Regions from separate parts of the Homo sapiens genome. Here region 2 is linked to region 1. The links are contacts of gene promoters, found by promoter capture Hi-C in blood cells and fetal thymus (Javierre and others, 2016). All regions are on one chromosome and are shown on one strand. Each heading gives the region's core, a stretch centred on a gene start or on the middle of the fragment in contact. The rest is flanking DNA. Distances are from core to core; before and after follow the strand shown.

Region 1 (7,404 bases), core at 4,905-7,404:
AGAGGATACAGGATCCCTCCTTTGCTAGTCAAGGCCAGCCCATCCCCCTGTATATTTGACTTCATCTCTTCCCACTGCCCCAGGATTTCATCCACCCCTGCTCTGATATCAGGGGCCCCCTCCCCTTCTGTCCATGGTGTGGGGCTTTTTGCACTTCACACACACACACACACAGGTGCACATACATACACACCCCTTCTCCAAACCACTCCACAAAGGGCCCCTGCCTCCTCACTTTCTTGCCTTCCACATCACACCCTAAATTCTCCTGGCCAAGGTTCCCACTGACCTCCTTGTTGCCAAACCTAAGTCCTGTTGTCCCGCTGTGTGTCTCTTATGCACTTGGCAAGGCTGAGCAGGTCCTTCTTGGAAATGTGTTTCTTTGGTTTCTATGACACAATGCACCCCCACTCCAAAACACACATACACACATCCCAGATTCTTGCCCCCACCCACCACCACCCGCTATCTCTCTAGATGCTTCTGTGGTTCTTTCTCCTCCTCTGACCTCTTCAAATGTAGTATGGTGGTTTTAAAACATGTCCATAATTTTTTTTTTTTTTTTTGAGATAGAGTCTCACTTTGTTGCCCGAGCTGGATACAGTGGTGCGATCAGGTGCGTGCCACCATGCTCAGCTAATTTTTTTTAACTTTTAAGTTTTTTGGAGAGATAGGGGCTCCCTGTGTTGACCAAGCTGGTCTCGAGCTCCTGGGCTCAAGCGATCCTCCCATCTTGGCCTCCCAAAGTGCTAGGATTACAGACTTCAGCCATCGTGCCCAACCATGTCTATAAATTCTTTAAGACTCCTCCCACTGAGTAACAGAGTCTGTTTCTTCCCCTTGAATCTGAGCCAAACTTAGTGACTCAGACTACAGTAGAAATGATTCTATGGTGACTTGTGAGGCTGGGTCATAAAGGCAATGTGGCCTGACTCATGGGAGTCCTGAGCTACAGTGTAAGAGGTGTCAACACTCTCAGCTGCCATGCTGTGAGGAAGCCCAACTGGCTCATGCAGAGAGACAACATGGAGAGGCCTTGAGGCTATATGAAGAGAGATGCTTGGCCAGCTCCCAGCTGCTCCAGCTCCCCAGTGCTCCGGCTTCCACTGTAACCACAAAAGAGACACCAAGGCAGAACCACCCAGATGAGCCCTTCCCAAATTCCTGACCCACAGAAATTGTGAAAGATGATAAAAATCATTGGATTTGGAGTGGTCTGTTATGCAGCCATAGACAGCCAAACAGAGGCATCTTAATCTGCTTGGGCTACTATAACAATTTAGCATGGAGCAGGTGGCTTGACAACACACATTTATTCCTCAGGTCTGCAGGGTGAAGAGTCTAAGATCAAGGTGCTGGCAAATTCCATTCTGCTGGCAACCAAGGGCCTGACTTCTGGTGTACAGACGACCATCCTATTGTAGCCCCAAATGGCACAGAGAAGAAGCAAGCTCTCAAGTCTCCTCTTATCAGGCTGTAATCCCTCCCAAAGGCCCACTTCCAAATAACATCACCTTAGGACTTCAACATATGAATATGAGGGAGATACAAACATTCAGTCTGCAGCAGAGGGCTTCGTTAGAGCTCTGACCTGAGCACGCTTCATCTCAATGTCATTGTTTTTGCCAGCTCTACATCCACTGCCCTTTTTTTTTTTTTTTTTTTTTTTTTTTTTTTTTGAGACAGAGTCTCACTCTTATCACCCAGGCTACGGTGCAGTGGCACGATCTTGGCTCACTGCAACCTCCGCCTCCCAGCTTCAAGTGATTCTCCTGCCTCAGCCTCCGGAGTAGCTGGGACTACAGGTGCATGCCACCACACCCGGCTGATTTTTGTATTTTTAGTAGAGACAGGGTTTCACCATGTTGGTCAGGCTGGTCTCAAACTCCTGACCTTGTGATCCACCTGCCTCAGCCTCCCAAAGTGCTGGGATTACAGGCATGAGCCACTGGGCCTGGCCCCACTGCCCTTTCTTACAGTAACAGTATTTCAATTTCCCTTTAGGGAAGCTCTTCAAGCAGGTTCTCAGTCCAAGAGGTTTCTCTGGGTTAAGCACTGCCAGCCACCCAAAGGGTGAGCAAGTAACCAGCCAATCAGAGACACTCCAGTGGGTTCAGTAAATGACATATTATCTAACTGGGGTGAGGGGAATCAACATCAGGGCTTTTCCTGAGACTATAAGGAGAAACAGATTCTTTTCCCAGCAGTTAAATTTGAAGTCTGTGGCCATTTTGCTACCATATAGGGAAAATCTGCCTGACATTGAAGCCAACACAGATGAGGGAAGAGCCAAGAGATAAAGAGAAAGATCCTGAGCATCTGGATACAGCCATGCCTGAAGCCAGTATCCCTTGACTTCTCAATTATGTGAGCCTTTATATTCCCTTTGTTTAAAGCCAGTTCAAGTTTAAAACTGCCATTTCCAGTGAGAACAATTCCCTATGTTGTATCTAAGGCCAAGACCTTGCCCCTGACTCTAGGCCAGAATGTCCTGTACAGTGCCATTCAACTCTGCCAAAAGCAAAGGGCATCAACTTCTCCACAACCTGGCTTTCCCTCATCTATTTTACATCTCTGTTAATGGGAGCATCACCCACCTGACCTATAAACATAAAAGTCAGCCTCTATCCTCTCTGTCTCTCTCCCTCTCTCTGTCTCTCTCTCTCTCTCTCAATCCCTGTCACTTCCCTTACTTCTTAGTAACCAAGTTCTGCCAACTTAACTTTATGGACATTTTTCACACCTGCACCCTCCTTTCCATTTTTCCTGCCCACTCCAATTCTTCATCATTTCTCACCTAAATTTTTACAAAATCAATAGATAACTAACATAGAGGTGTATAGTAAAAAGTGAATTTCGGCCGGGCACAGTGGCTCATGCCTGTAATCCCAGCACTTTGGGAGGCCGAGGCAGGCAGATCATGAGGTCAGGAGATAGAGACCATCCTGGCCAACATGGTGAAACCTCATCTGTACTAAAAATACAAAAAAAAATTAGCTGGGCATGGTGGCATGTGCTTGTAGTCCCAGCTACTGGGGAGGCTGAGGCAGGAGAATCGCTTGAACCCGGGAGGCGGAGGTTGCAGTGAGCTGAGATCGCACCACTGCCCTCCAGCCTGGTGACAGAGCGAGACTCCATCTCAAAAAAAAAAAAAAAAAGTGAATTTCATTCCCACCCTTGCCATCAGTTACCCTCCCCCAAGGCATCTACTGTTACCTCTTTCTTGTCTATTTTCCCAGAAGTTCTCTATATGTGCCATCTTTTTGAGAATTTCAAATGGAGGCATACTATCAAGACTTTTCAGAACACTGCATCCTTCTTCACTTGAAGTGTGATTAATATAAATAATTATAGACTAATTTCTTCTTTCTAATGGATGCATAGTATTCCACAAAGACATATAATGTACATAACTCGTCTTCCATTGATGGATATTTAAGTGGTGTCCCAGTTATCTGTTAGCACAGAACAAAACCCCCCAAACCTAGTGGTATAACACAATAACCACTTGAATATGCTTGTGGGTTCTGTGTGTCAGGAATTCAGGCAGGACACAGTGAGGCCAGCTTGTTTCTACTCTGCAATGTTTGAGTCTTCAGCTAGGAAGATTTGAAGATTTGAAGGCTGAAGCTGATTCAAATGGCTGGCCACTGGAATCATCTTGTTCTTCCCCTTCCCCTTCGCCTTCTACAGTGCAATGGCATGATGTCGGCTCACTGCAACCTCTGCCTCCCGGGTTCAAGCAATTCTCCTGCCTCATCCTCCCTAGTAGCTGGGATTACAGGTGCACGCCACCATGCCCGGCTATTTTTGTATTTTTAGTAGAGACGGGGTTTTGCCATGTGGCCAGGCTGGTCTCGAACTCCTGAACTCAGGGTATCCACCCGCCTTGGCCTCCCAAAGTGCTGGGATTACAGGTGTGAGCCACCGTGCCTGGCCTCATCTGGTTCTTCTTCACTCACTTCTTTTATGCTTGAACTGGGATGACTCAAAGCTAAGCTTAGCTGGGACTGTGGTGCCTTCATGTGTCCTCTCCTGATGGTCTTGGCATCCTGACAGCATGGCAGCCTCTAAGCAGACATGGAGCCCTAGGTAGGCATGGTGCCTCAGGCTCCAAGAGCTAGAGTTCTAGCAGAAGTTGCCTGTACTTTTATGTCTGGACCTTAGAAGTCAGAGTGTTACTTCCACCGTACTCCATTGGTTGAAGCAGTCATCAGCTCACCCAAGATTCAGAGAGGGTACAAGGATCCCACCTCTCTACAGAGGAGTGCTAAAGAATTTGTAGCTATATTTTAAAACCACCACAGGTTGTTTCCAATCTGTAGCTATTCCTGTAGTTCATTTTACAGGCTAACATCTCTTGAATGTCTTCATTTCTCTGCACCAGGCCAAGACACTGTCATCTCTGATCTCTTTGCTGATCTCTTGCTGTCACTCTTGTGCTCAACATGCTGTTCTCTTGACAGCAGCCAGAGGTCTTTTCAGAATGAAAATCAGATCACATCCCACCCCTCTTCATAACCCTTCCATGGCTCCCCACTACCCTTGGGCTGAAGCTCAAACTCCTTACCTTGGCTTATGAGGCCCCACAAGGTCTCACTTCTGCCTGCCTCTCCAATGCCATCTCCTGTCACCATTTGGGGCCTTTAGTTTTGAGCTGCAAGAGTTCCTCCCATCACACACACACACATACACACACACACACACACTTAAATGAGTAAGTAAATAGAACATACAAAACGCTTAAACACTTTGCACATAGTGAGCATAATAAGTTTGCTACTATTATTAGACTGTCTTCAGTAAATATTTACTGGGCTGCCTACTCAGTGCCAAGCACTATGGGAGGCTCACAGATACAACACGAACAAGAAATATGTGGCCTTGGCCAGACGCGGTGGCTCACGCTTACAATCCCAGCACTTTGGGAGGCCGAGGCAGGTGGATCACTTGAGCTCAGGAGTTCAAGACCAGCCTGGGCATCATGGCAAAACCCTGTCTCTATTAAAAATACAAAAAATTAGCTAGGCATGGTAGTGCGTGCCTGTAGTCCCAGCTCCTCAGGCGACTGAGGTGGGAGGATCACCTGAGCCTTGGGAGATCGAGGCTGCAGTGAGCCGTGATCATGCCACCGCACTCCAGCCTGGACAACAGAGTGAGACGCTGTCTCAAAAAAATAAAAATTAAAAAAAAAGAAAAAGAAAAACTAAAAAGGAAGATGTGGCCCTATCTTGCCGAGCTCATTCTTCTGTGTGTCCCCAGCCCCTAGCACAAGGAGAAACAGAATAGATGCTCAAGACACAAAGGCATGTCTGTGCAAGGGTGCTTGATGACGGTTGGAGGGGCACAATGACTTTCCCAAGATCACACAGCAAATGTGGGACAAAATCAAGGCTGACAGCTCATGACAGGGTGGGAGGCAGATGCAGCTGCCTGGCACAGGCTGGCTCTCCAGGGAGATGGGCAGTGGGCACGCATTGCCCAGGGCAGAACTGGGGCTAGGGGAGGAAACAACAAGGGAGGCTGTCATTAGCTCCTTCCAAAGTGGAGGTCACTTCTCTCCCAACCCCGAGTCCTCCACCCAAACTCCCTTCTCAAGGTACAAGGGCTGATCCCGTACCAGGGATGGGTAGGGACTCAAAGAGGAAAAGAGGATGAAAAGAGGATGGGGACTGAGTGAGATGTGAGGACTCCAGAGGGATTAGCGGCTCTCAAGGCAAGTGGGAGGGGACTTCCCGGTAGGAGCCCGGAGACAGATGGGAGCCTGTGAAGAGGGCGGGGGCCCGGCGAGGAGAAGCGGTTTCTACGCTGGGGTGGGGCTCCATGAGGGGGATGGAGACCTGGAAAAGGGACTGACGGTGCAGCGAGGAGAGGAAGGCTCGGTTAAGGGATGGGTCTTCCACGGGAGGGGTGGGGAACTGCGGGAGTGACGGCAGCTTCGGTGAGGAGTCTGAGGGGCTGCGTGAGGGGCTGGGGCCCAGGGAGTCCGAGGGGTCTCTGTGAGGGCGCTGGGGTGTCCGAGCGAGCAGGGAACTCTGGAAGGGGACAGGAGCCGGGGGAGCTGCAGGCGGCCGCCGTCTGCAGAGCCAGGCCCTGAGGCGGGCCGGCGCCCCCTCCCCCGCCCCGAACTGCGGCGCAGGCGCGAACCGGACCCGCCTTTGCTCGGCGGAGACAGCAGGCAGAGAGGTGAGCTTAGCCCTGCCCCACGCGCGGCCAGGCCCCAGCCCCAGCCCCTGGAGAACCCCCGCGCTCTGCCCGCATCCTCAGCCCGGGCCGTGTCCCGCCAGGGCCGGGACCTTTGCGCCTGAGCCTCGGCTTTGGGAGGTGGGGGTCCCAGGGAAGCAGCAGGGGCGGGAGACAGAAACAGCCCCATCGCCCCTCGACGCCTCAGGGTTGATAGGCTGGGTAGAGGCTTCAAAGGACACCCCCACCCCCGCCAACACTTCAAAAACCCATTCCTACCCCTCTCTGCCTCAGTTTCTCTCTAGGGAAAAGGACGCAGTTGGTGTGGAGCAGGGCATCGGTGGTCCTGTCAGGAAGAGTGGCGCGGGTGCCGGTGGGGAAGGGAGGCGGGAAATGGCCTGATTTCCCCGGCCGACACCCCCTACCCATCCCCCCCGGGAGGGCGCCCCTTCTCCCCCGCCCGGGCAGCGCTGGACGCTGTAGTGGGCGAGTCTGAGGGTCTGGGAAGGACACAACTGAATGAGGCTGTGCAGAGGCGACAGATTCCGTCCATCTTCGGGCCCTGGCTTCCGTCACTTCCGCCCGTGCCTGCCGCCCCTCGCCTCCTCCCTCCGCCGCAGTCTCCCCACGTCGGACAGCGCAGCCCCCTCCGCCTCCCGCTCCCCTCCCACCGAGCTCCTCCCGGCTCCCGGGCTGGGGACGCCTCCCTAGCGGTTCCCATGGCAACCCTCGTCCCGGGTGCCTGCGCCCCGCCCCCCGCCCGCCAGACCTACTCCGTGCAGCCCTGAAACGCCAGGCGGAGGGGCCAGGCCGAGCGGGAGGCAGCGTCAAGGTCACCTTCCCTCTCCAGTAGCAGCAGGACTGAGTGATTCCATCTATTTGGAGTCGCGGAAGCGGTGAATTGGAGGGGAGGAGCTGACCCAGGTCAACAGCCCCGAAGCCCCCTCCACACCTCCTCACCTGTGGCCTTGAACAGTGGTCTCCGCACGGAGGCTCCTACCGTCCCCCAGGCCCCATTTCTTCTCCCCACCCGGGCCTCCCCAGCGCCTCGCCGGGGCGGGTACCGCGCTGGCCGCACCCTCCGCACAGCCCGCCCCGCCCGCCTCCTCCGGCGAGCCCTCCTCTCCAGACCTCTCGCCCTCCTCCTCCGACGGTCCTTCGCTTTCAGTCTCTGCCTTTTCCCGTTCTCTGTCGTGGCTTTTGTTGTTGTTGTTTTTCCTC
Region 2 (7,404 bases), core at 1,606-4,105, 120 kb after region 1:
TGAGTGCTTTCAAATGTGTCAATACAAACGAGATTTCATCTTAAAATCAAAAGTCTAAATCTATTCAAATACATATTTGTAATTAGTACAAGAATAATCTGTTAGAATTCTCAAAATTATCTTTTTTTTTTTTTTGAGACAGAGTCTCACTCTATCACCCAGACTGGAGTGCAATAGCGATCATAGCTCACTGCAGCCTCAAGCTCCTGGGCTCAAGCTAGCCTCCTGTTGCAGCCTCCCGAGTAGCTGAGACTGTAGGTACACACTACCATGCCTGGCTAGTTTTTTTAGTTTTTATAGAGGGGGTGGGGAATCTCCCTATGTTGCCCAGGCCGGTCTCAAACTGCCTTCGCCTCCCAAAGCTCTGGGATTACAGGCGTGAATCACAGTGCCAAGCTCTTGAAATTATCTTGAACATTATAGGAATTTAAAGTATCACATTTACACAGATGCCTTAATGCAAAATTATTAATACTAGAAGTTTGAAAACATTTCTAGTCTTTGTTCTAAATCATCTGTGAGGCTCATGCCTGTAATCCCAGCACTTTGGGAGGTGAAGGGCTGCAGATCACTTGAGGTCAGGAGTTCAAGACCAGCCTCACCAACATGGTGAAACCCCATCTCTACTAAAAATACAAAAATTAGCTGGGCATGGTGGTGCCTGCCTGTAATCCCAGCTACTTGGGAGGCTGAGGCAGGAGAATTGCTTGAACCTGGGAGGCAGAGGTTGCAGTGAGCCAAGATTGCGCCACTGCACTCCAGCCTAAGAGACGGAGTGAGACTCCATCTCAAAAAATAAATAAATAAAATGAAATAAATCATCATTGAGGTTAAAAGATGCTTAGTGCCCACTGAAGGAAGATTTAAGTCATCCCAGTTTAAGAGTAACGTGCTCAAGCAATTTGAGATATTTATTCCCTTCTCAGTTTACTGCGCTGGTCATCCAGCCAGCTGGATTCTTGCTTTTGGTAGTGATGGAACAGTGACCCCCACCCCATTCCCACCACCACAACTCTAGGACTAAACAGTTGTGTGGTCGTTGTGAAGCTTGGGCCAGAATTTACTTTCAAAAAATGTCCCGCTTCATGTATAATATAAAGACCTTACAATAAATTCCCATTTCTTCCCTCCTGTTCTTCTTGCTGTTGTCCTACATTTTACTTTTTAAAATCCCTTCCTTCTCTTGCTTTCTCCCCTCTACCCACCAACCACTTGCAAACAACCACTGATCTACATCCTGTCACTATAGATTGGTTTTCATTTTCTGGAATTTTTTATGGACGGAATCATATAGTATGTAGTCTTTTTTGTCTGGCTTCTTTTACTCAGCGTAATTATTTTATAAGCAATCATGTTGCATTAATCAATAGTTCATTTGTTTTTGTTGTTAAGTAGAATTTCATCTTAGAAATATACCACGATTCATTTTATCAGTATTTTAAATTTTTGCATGTGCTGCAAGTACACAATTCATTGCTAATATGCTTGCCTTAGACCAGGCGGTTAGCAAAAAAGATGGTCTGCCCACCTGCAAGCCAAAACCACTCTACTGCCTGATTTTGCACGGCTCATGAACTAAGAATGGCTTTTACCTTGATAAATGTTGAAAAATCACAACTTAATTGTAGCACATTAAAACTATATGGAATTTAAATCTCAGTGTCCATAAACCTTTACTGAAACAGAGTCACGCTCATTCATTTACCTACTGTCTATGGCTGTTTTCATGCTGCAACGGTAGAGTTCAGTGGTTGCAACAGAGATATGGCCTACAAAACCTAAAATATTTATTATCTGCTCCTTTATGTATTTATTTATTTTATGTGTGTATGTATGTATGTATTTTTTTGAGATGGAGTTTCACTCTTGTTGCCCAGGCTGGAGTGCAATGGCGCAATCGCAGCTCACTGCAACCTCCGCCTCCCAGGTCCACGTGATTCTCCTGCCTCAGCCTCCCGAGTAGCTGGGATTAGCCCGCCACCATGCCTGGCTAATTTTTTTGTATTTTTAGTAGAGACGGGGTTTTGCCATGTTGGTCAGGCTGGTCTCAAACTCCCGACCTCAGGTGATCCGCCCGCCTCAGCCTCCCAAAGTGCCTGGGATTACAGGCATGAGCCACCGCACCCGGCCTATCTGCTCCTTTATAGAAAAAGATTGGCAGGACGTGGTGGCTCACACCTGTAATCCCAGCACTTTGGGAGGCCGAGGCAGGCAGATTACATGAGGCCAGGAGTTCGAGACCAGCTTGGCCAAAGTGGTGAAACCCCGTCTTTACTAAACATACAAAAATTAGCCAGGCATAGTGGCACAGGTCTGTAATCCCAGCTACTCAGGAGGCTGAGGCAGGAGAATCACTTGAACCCAGGAGGCGGAGACTGCAGTGAGCCGAGATCACACCATTGCACTCCAGCCTGGGTGACAGAGTGAGACTCCACATAAAAAAAAAAAAAAAAAAAAAAAAGTTTTGTGACCCTCTATTGTAGAGATGGAGGTATTGGGGCTGTTGCCCAGGCTGGCCTTCAACTCCTGGCCTCAAGGGATCCTCCTGCTTCAGCCTCCCAAAAATGATGGGATTTCAAGTTTGAGCCCCATGCCCAGCTCACTTCAGTTATTTCTAAGGTAATTTAAAAAAGATTTTAATTGTACTTACCTTCATTCAATTTCCAGTGCTCTTAATTTCATTGTGTAGACCCAGGTTTTTTTCTGGTATCATATTCCTTTTGCCTGAAAAACTTCCTTTAGTATCTTGTAGAAGGAGCAATGAATTCCGTTTTTCTTTATCTGAAACAGGGTTTATTTCTCCTTTATTTTGAAAGACACTTTCATTTGGGTATAGGATTCCGGAATTTTGGGTGAGCAGTTTTTGTGTGTGTATGTGTTTTTCCCCTATCAGCATCAGCAATAAGGTCACTCCATTGGCTTCTAGCTTGCATAGTTTCTGACGTCTCCATAATTCTTAGCTTCCTCTGTATGCAATGTCTTCTTTTTCCTTGCTGCCTTTAAGATTTTCTTTTGTTTTAGCATTTCGAGTATATCTAATTTTATATGTGTGTGTGTATATATATATATATATATATATATATATATATATATATGAGTTTATTCTGCATGTTCTCTGAGCTTCTTGGATTTTGTGGTTTGCTCTGTCCTTAATGTTGAAAAGTTCTCAGCCTTTAATTCTTCAAATGTTTCTTTTCCTGTTCTCTCTCCTTTCTTCTGGGAATCTAACTATAATATGTTTGAGTGTTTGATATTGTCCCACAACTCTTGGATGTTCTCTTTTGACGGTTTTTTTTCCCTTCACCCTTTTTCCCCAGTGTTTCAGTTTGAATAATTTCTCTTGACCTATCTTTGAGTTCATTCATTCTCTCCTTGGCTGTGTCAAATCCACTGACGAGCTCCATGAGGCACTCTTCATCTCTGCATCTCTGTTAGTGTGTTTCTTTTTTTTTTTTTTTTTTGAGACAGAGTCTCGCTCTGTCCTCCAGGCGTGCAGTGGCGCAATCTCGGCTCACTGCAAGCTCTGCCTCCCGGGTTCACACCATTCTCCTGCCTCAGCCTCCTGAGTAGGTGGGACTACAGGCTCCCGCCACCATGCCCGGCTGATTTTTTGTATTTTTAGTAGAGACGGGGTTTCACCGCGTTAGCCAGGATGGTCTCAATCTCCTGACCTCGTGATCTGCCCGCCTCGGCCTCCCAAAGTGCTGGAATTACAGGCGTGAGCCACCGCACCTGGCCATTAGTGTGTTTCTTATTTTGACCAGTTCCATTTGGTTCTCATAGCTTCCATCTCTCTACTGAGATTGCACTTTTGATCTTGCATATTGTCTACTTTTACTGTTAGACCTTTTACCATATTAGTTATTTGAAATTCTGTATCACATAGCTCTGACATCTGTGTTTGGTTCTGAAGATTGCTTTGTCTCTTGGGAGTATGTCATTTATCTCTTGCTTCATAAGTGTTGGTGAAAGTTGGACATCTTGTGTAGGATAGTAGAGGCCCAGGGAAATGGGTTTTGTGTAGAAATGGGCACACTTTTCCTTCTGTTAGGTCTTTAGCGTGGGGGTTTGAATTAACCTAGTTAGGAGTTGTGATAGGCTGGGTGGGTGGCTCATGCCTGTATTCCCAGCACTTTGGGAGGCCAAGGCAGGAAGATTGCTTGAACACAGGAGTTTGAGATCAGCCTGGACAACATAGTGAAACCCCATCTCTACAAAAAAAATAAAAATTATCTAGGCATTTTTGGTGCATGCCTGTTGTCCTAGCTACTGGGAAGGCTTGCCGAGTCTGTCCTGCAGACTCTGCCCAAGCGACGGATGAAAGGAGTACTCAGATACAGATATCCAGTGAAAGAGCAGGATAGGGGACTGCCAGCACTAGGGGCCGAAGAGAATTAGCAGTTCCCCTAAGCCGGCAGCCCTCGCATTTGTTTGGTACAGATTTAATGACAAAGGCTTGGAGCAAACACAATTTGTGGGTAATAAACATTGTTGACCCCCCGAGTAGAGAGCAGTCCTGCATGCAAATGATTAAAGGTTGGTTTCTGGAGACAGGAGTAGACAAATTTATCTAGATAAGTTTCTTTACATTCCCTTGTTATCTGCCCTTTGCTCTCAGGCTCCAGATGAGACAATTTGGCTGCCTTCAGCCATAATTTCCTTCCAAAGCTTTTGTAAAACCTCCTGGCCTTTCAAGAAGGTTTGTGTCTTTACTATAATTTCTCCCACCACCCTGACCAATCTCCTACATCTCCCCCTTTTCTGTTTTTTGCATCAGCTTTTGTTAATTGAAGAGTACAGATGTGCAGCAACAGGTTTTTCAGGTGTAGTGGTCACTGCTTGTATTTCGGCTTTGCATCCTAGAATTAGTAAATAACATAAGATAAACGTGAATATAATCAGTAACATTCTTTTCCAATCAAGGAGTGACATGTAGTGTTACTTGCCACCTCAGTTCAGTGTGTGCCCTTACTAAGGAACCCCACTGGGGGTATGTTAACCCCTTCCAGCCAAGCAGTTACGTTATTAGAGGCTGGGAAGGGGGTGTCCACCCAGGTAATAGGGTGGAAGAAAAGCAGATTTAGAAGATGGGCCCAATAGAGTGTAGCAGGTACTGGTTGCAGGCAGAGTGAGGGAATTAAACAAGGTTAATAAAGCATAGTAAGGAATAAATTATCTGGAGTGAATGGTGTTTGTGTCCAGAGCAGGATTCGTTCAGCCTCCTGAGTTGTCTTCTTCAGCATCCCCCAGGTAATGTCTGGGGCTTGTGTCGTCTGAGGAAGCTGCATCATCCAGGGCTGTGGGTCCTGCAGGGACATTTCCTTCATTTCTGGTACCAGGTTGGGTCCTAGCCACACCATGTTAAGGTTTGATGCGTTGTGCTGGAATCCAAAGAGGACCTGAGGTGATGTGAACACAACCATATCCTCTTCCCCATGTTGGCAACTCATTTGGACCACACCATACATTACTGTTTACATCTTTCCATAAAACTGTGGGTTTTATGTCTTGAGAGGTTTTAGCAAAGTGCTTTTCTATAGCTGATTGAAATTTATCATTTAAATTTAAGAAATTAAGGGTAAATAAGGCTTTTGCTAGTAGTGTTGCAGGGTCCTTACTCATACTCCCCCTTTTTTGTTTTTTGAGCATATTTTTAAGAGTGGACACGTTCTACTATGGCCTGTCCTTGGGGGTTATACGGGATGCCTGTGGAATGCTGGATGTTCCACGTGTGACAAAATTGTTGAAATTGTGAGCTGGCATGAGCCAGACCATTATCAGTTTTAATTTTTGTGGGCCGCCCCATAAATGCAAAAGTTAAGAGAAGAGTTTAATAACATATCAGGTGGACTTTCCAGGAAGAGCATTGTGCTAATTAGGTGAGAATAGGTATCAATGGATACTTGTACATATCTTAGTTTTCCAAATTCAGGGACGTGAGTAACATCTGTTTGCCATAACTGATTAGGTTCTAGTCCTCTAGGGTTAACGCCTGTTGAAGGAGGGGACATGCCTGTGAGCTGGCAATCCGGGCATTGCAGGATAATTTGTTTAGCTAGTCTTTGGGTAAGTTGAAATTGTTCAGTTAAGTTCCTTCAATTTTGGTGGAAAAATTGACGCAACTGCATGGCTTGGTGAAGCAGTGACATCATAACTTGCAGGTCTGCTTGTTCATTGCCATAAGCCAGTGGGCCAGGCAGTGAGCTGTGGGCTCGAATATGTGTGATAAAAATAGGATGTGTACGTTGATCCAGCAATTGCTGAAGTTGAAGAAAAAGTGCACACAGGGTGAGCTTGAGAGTGGACTTAATGAGGGCTGTTTTAAGGTTTTGCAATAAATAAACAGAGTAAGCAGAGTCACTAATATTGATAGGCAGAGTGGAAAAGTTCTCCAGGGGCAATATTAAGGCTCCAACCTCAGCTCTCTGAGTGCTAGTAAATCCAGAATGAGTGAGGAAATTATGCAGTCTCCACCAAACAGGCGCTTTTCTGTTTTTACCAGAGCCATCAGTAAAAAGTGTTAAAGTGTTGGGGTATGGGGGAGTGAACTACTTTTGTAGGCACAACTACAGGAGTACGAGATAAGAACTGAATTACGTTGTCAGCAGGAAGGGCATGCTCTATATGGCCTGTGTAATCAGAGATTGCTATCTGAAGATCTAGAGATAGGGGCAATACTGATCCAAATTGCCTTTTACTCAAAGGAATTCTTATGACATCATAACCTAGCAACTGATTGCACTATCTGCGGCCTGTATAGATGACTTTACTAACTAGCTGGATATAGGAAGATAGTGTTTTAGTCTCGGTATGTGAGCAAAAAACCCATTCTAGGAAGCGTAGTCCTGGGGTCATCTCTCCTATTAATACTGTTGGGGAATGTTTAGTAGGAAAAACAAACAATTGAACTGACTATCGGGGTGTCTATGTGATATAGTTGCCTCTGAGAAATAGCTTGCTCTATTTCCTCAATTTCCCTTTTTGCTGCAGGAGTCAAATACCTGGGAGAGTCTAGGGCTGTATTGCCCTTTAGGATAGAAAACAGTTTTGTAACTTATCAGTAGTTATGCCCAACGTGGGGTGAAGTCAATTAATATTGCCCAGTAACTTTTGATAATCATTTAAGGTGTGTAAATCGCTAGTATTTAACCTTTTGAGGTCTTACTGACCAGAAGTTAGTATGTATCCAAGATATTTCCAATTGTACTTTTTCAGGTGCTATGATTAAACCTCTTAACTGTGTATTCTTTATGACAGAGGCATATAAACTTAAAAGCACTGGCTCTGTTGGGGCTGCTAGGAAAATATCATCCATAAAATGAATAATCTTGCAACTAGGAAATTCTTTTCTACTGGGGAGCAAAGCCTGATTTACATGATACTGACACATGGTAGGACTGAACA

The links. The method cuts DNA at HindIII sites, captures the fragments that hold promoters and counts their contacts. A CHiCAGO score of 5 or more calls a contact.
Region 2: a contact is called between a fragment that was not itself captured here and the fragment with the promoter of NRSN2 in region 1, in 12 of 17 cell types (naive B cells, neutrophils, activated CD4 T cells and 9 more). The highest score is 8.6, in naive B cells.

Annotation. Positions count from the first base shown.
Region 1 is chr20:340,957-348,360 of GRCh38, forward strand. It overlaps NRSN2 (neurensin 2), which reads left to right and starts at 6,155. Exons shown (of 5, transcript NM_001323682.2): 1 at 6,155-6,186; 2 at 6,478-6,556. It overlaps LOC101929937 (serine/arginine repetitive matrix protein 2-like), which reads right to left. Exons shown (of 4, transcript XM_047440635.1): 2 at 7,144-7,404; 3 at 6,463-7,058; 4 at 5,310-6,035. The coding sequence ends at 5,712. RefSeq lists enhancers at 4,927-5,690, 5,691-6,453, 6,454-7,216 and silencers at 6,023-6,442, 6,463-6,992, 7,173-7,262. The HindIII fragment of the contact is 16,038 bases long and covers 3,998-7,404 here.
Region 2 is chr20:463,582-470,985 of GRCh38, forward strand. No RefSeq gene overlaps it. Among named protein-coding and RNA genes, the nearest start is that of TBC1D20, 4.8 kb to the left of the region's middle. The HindIII fragment of the contact is 3,621 bases long and covers 1,046-4,666 here.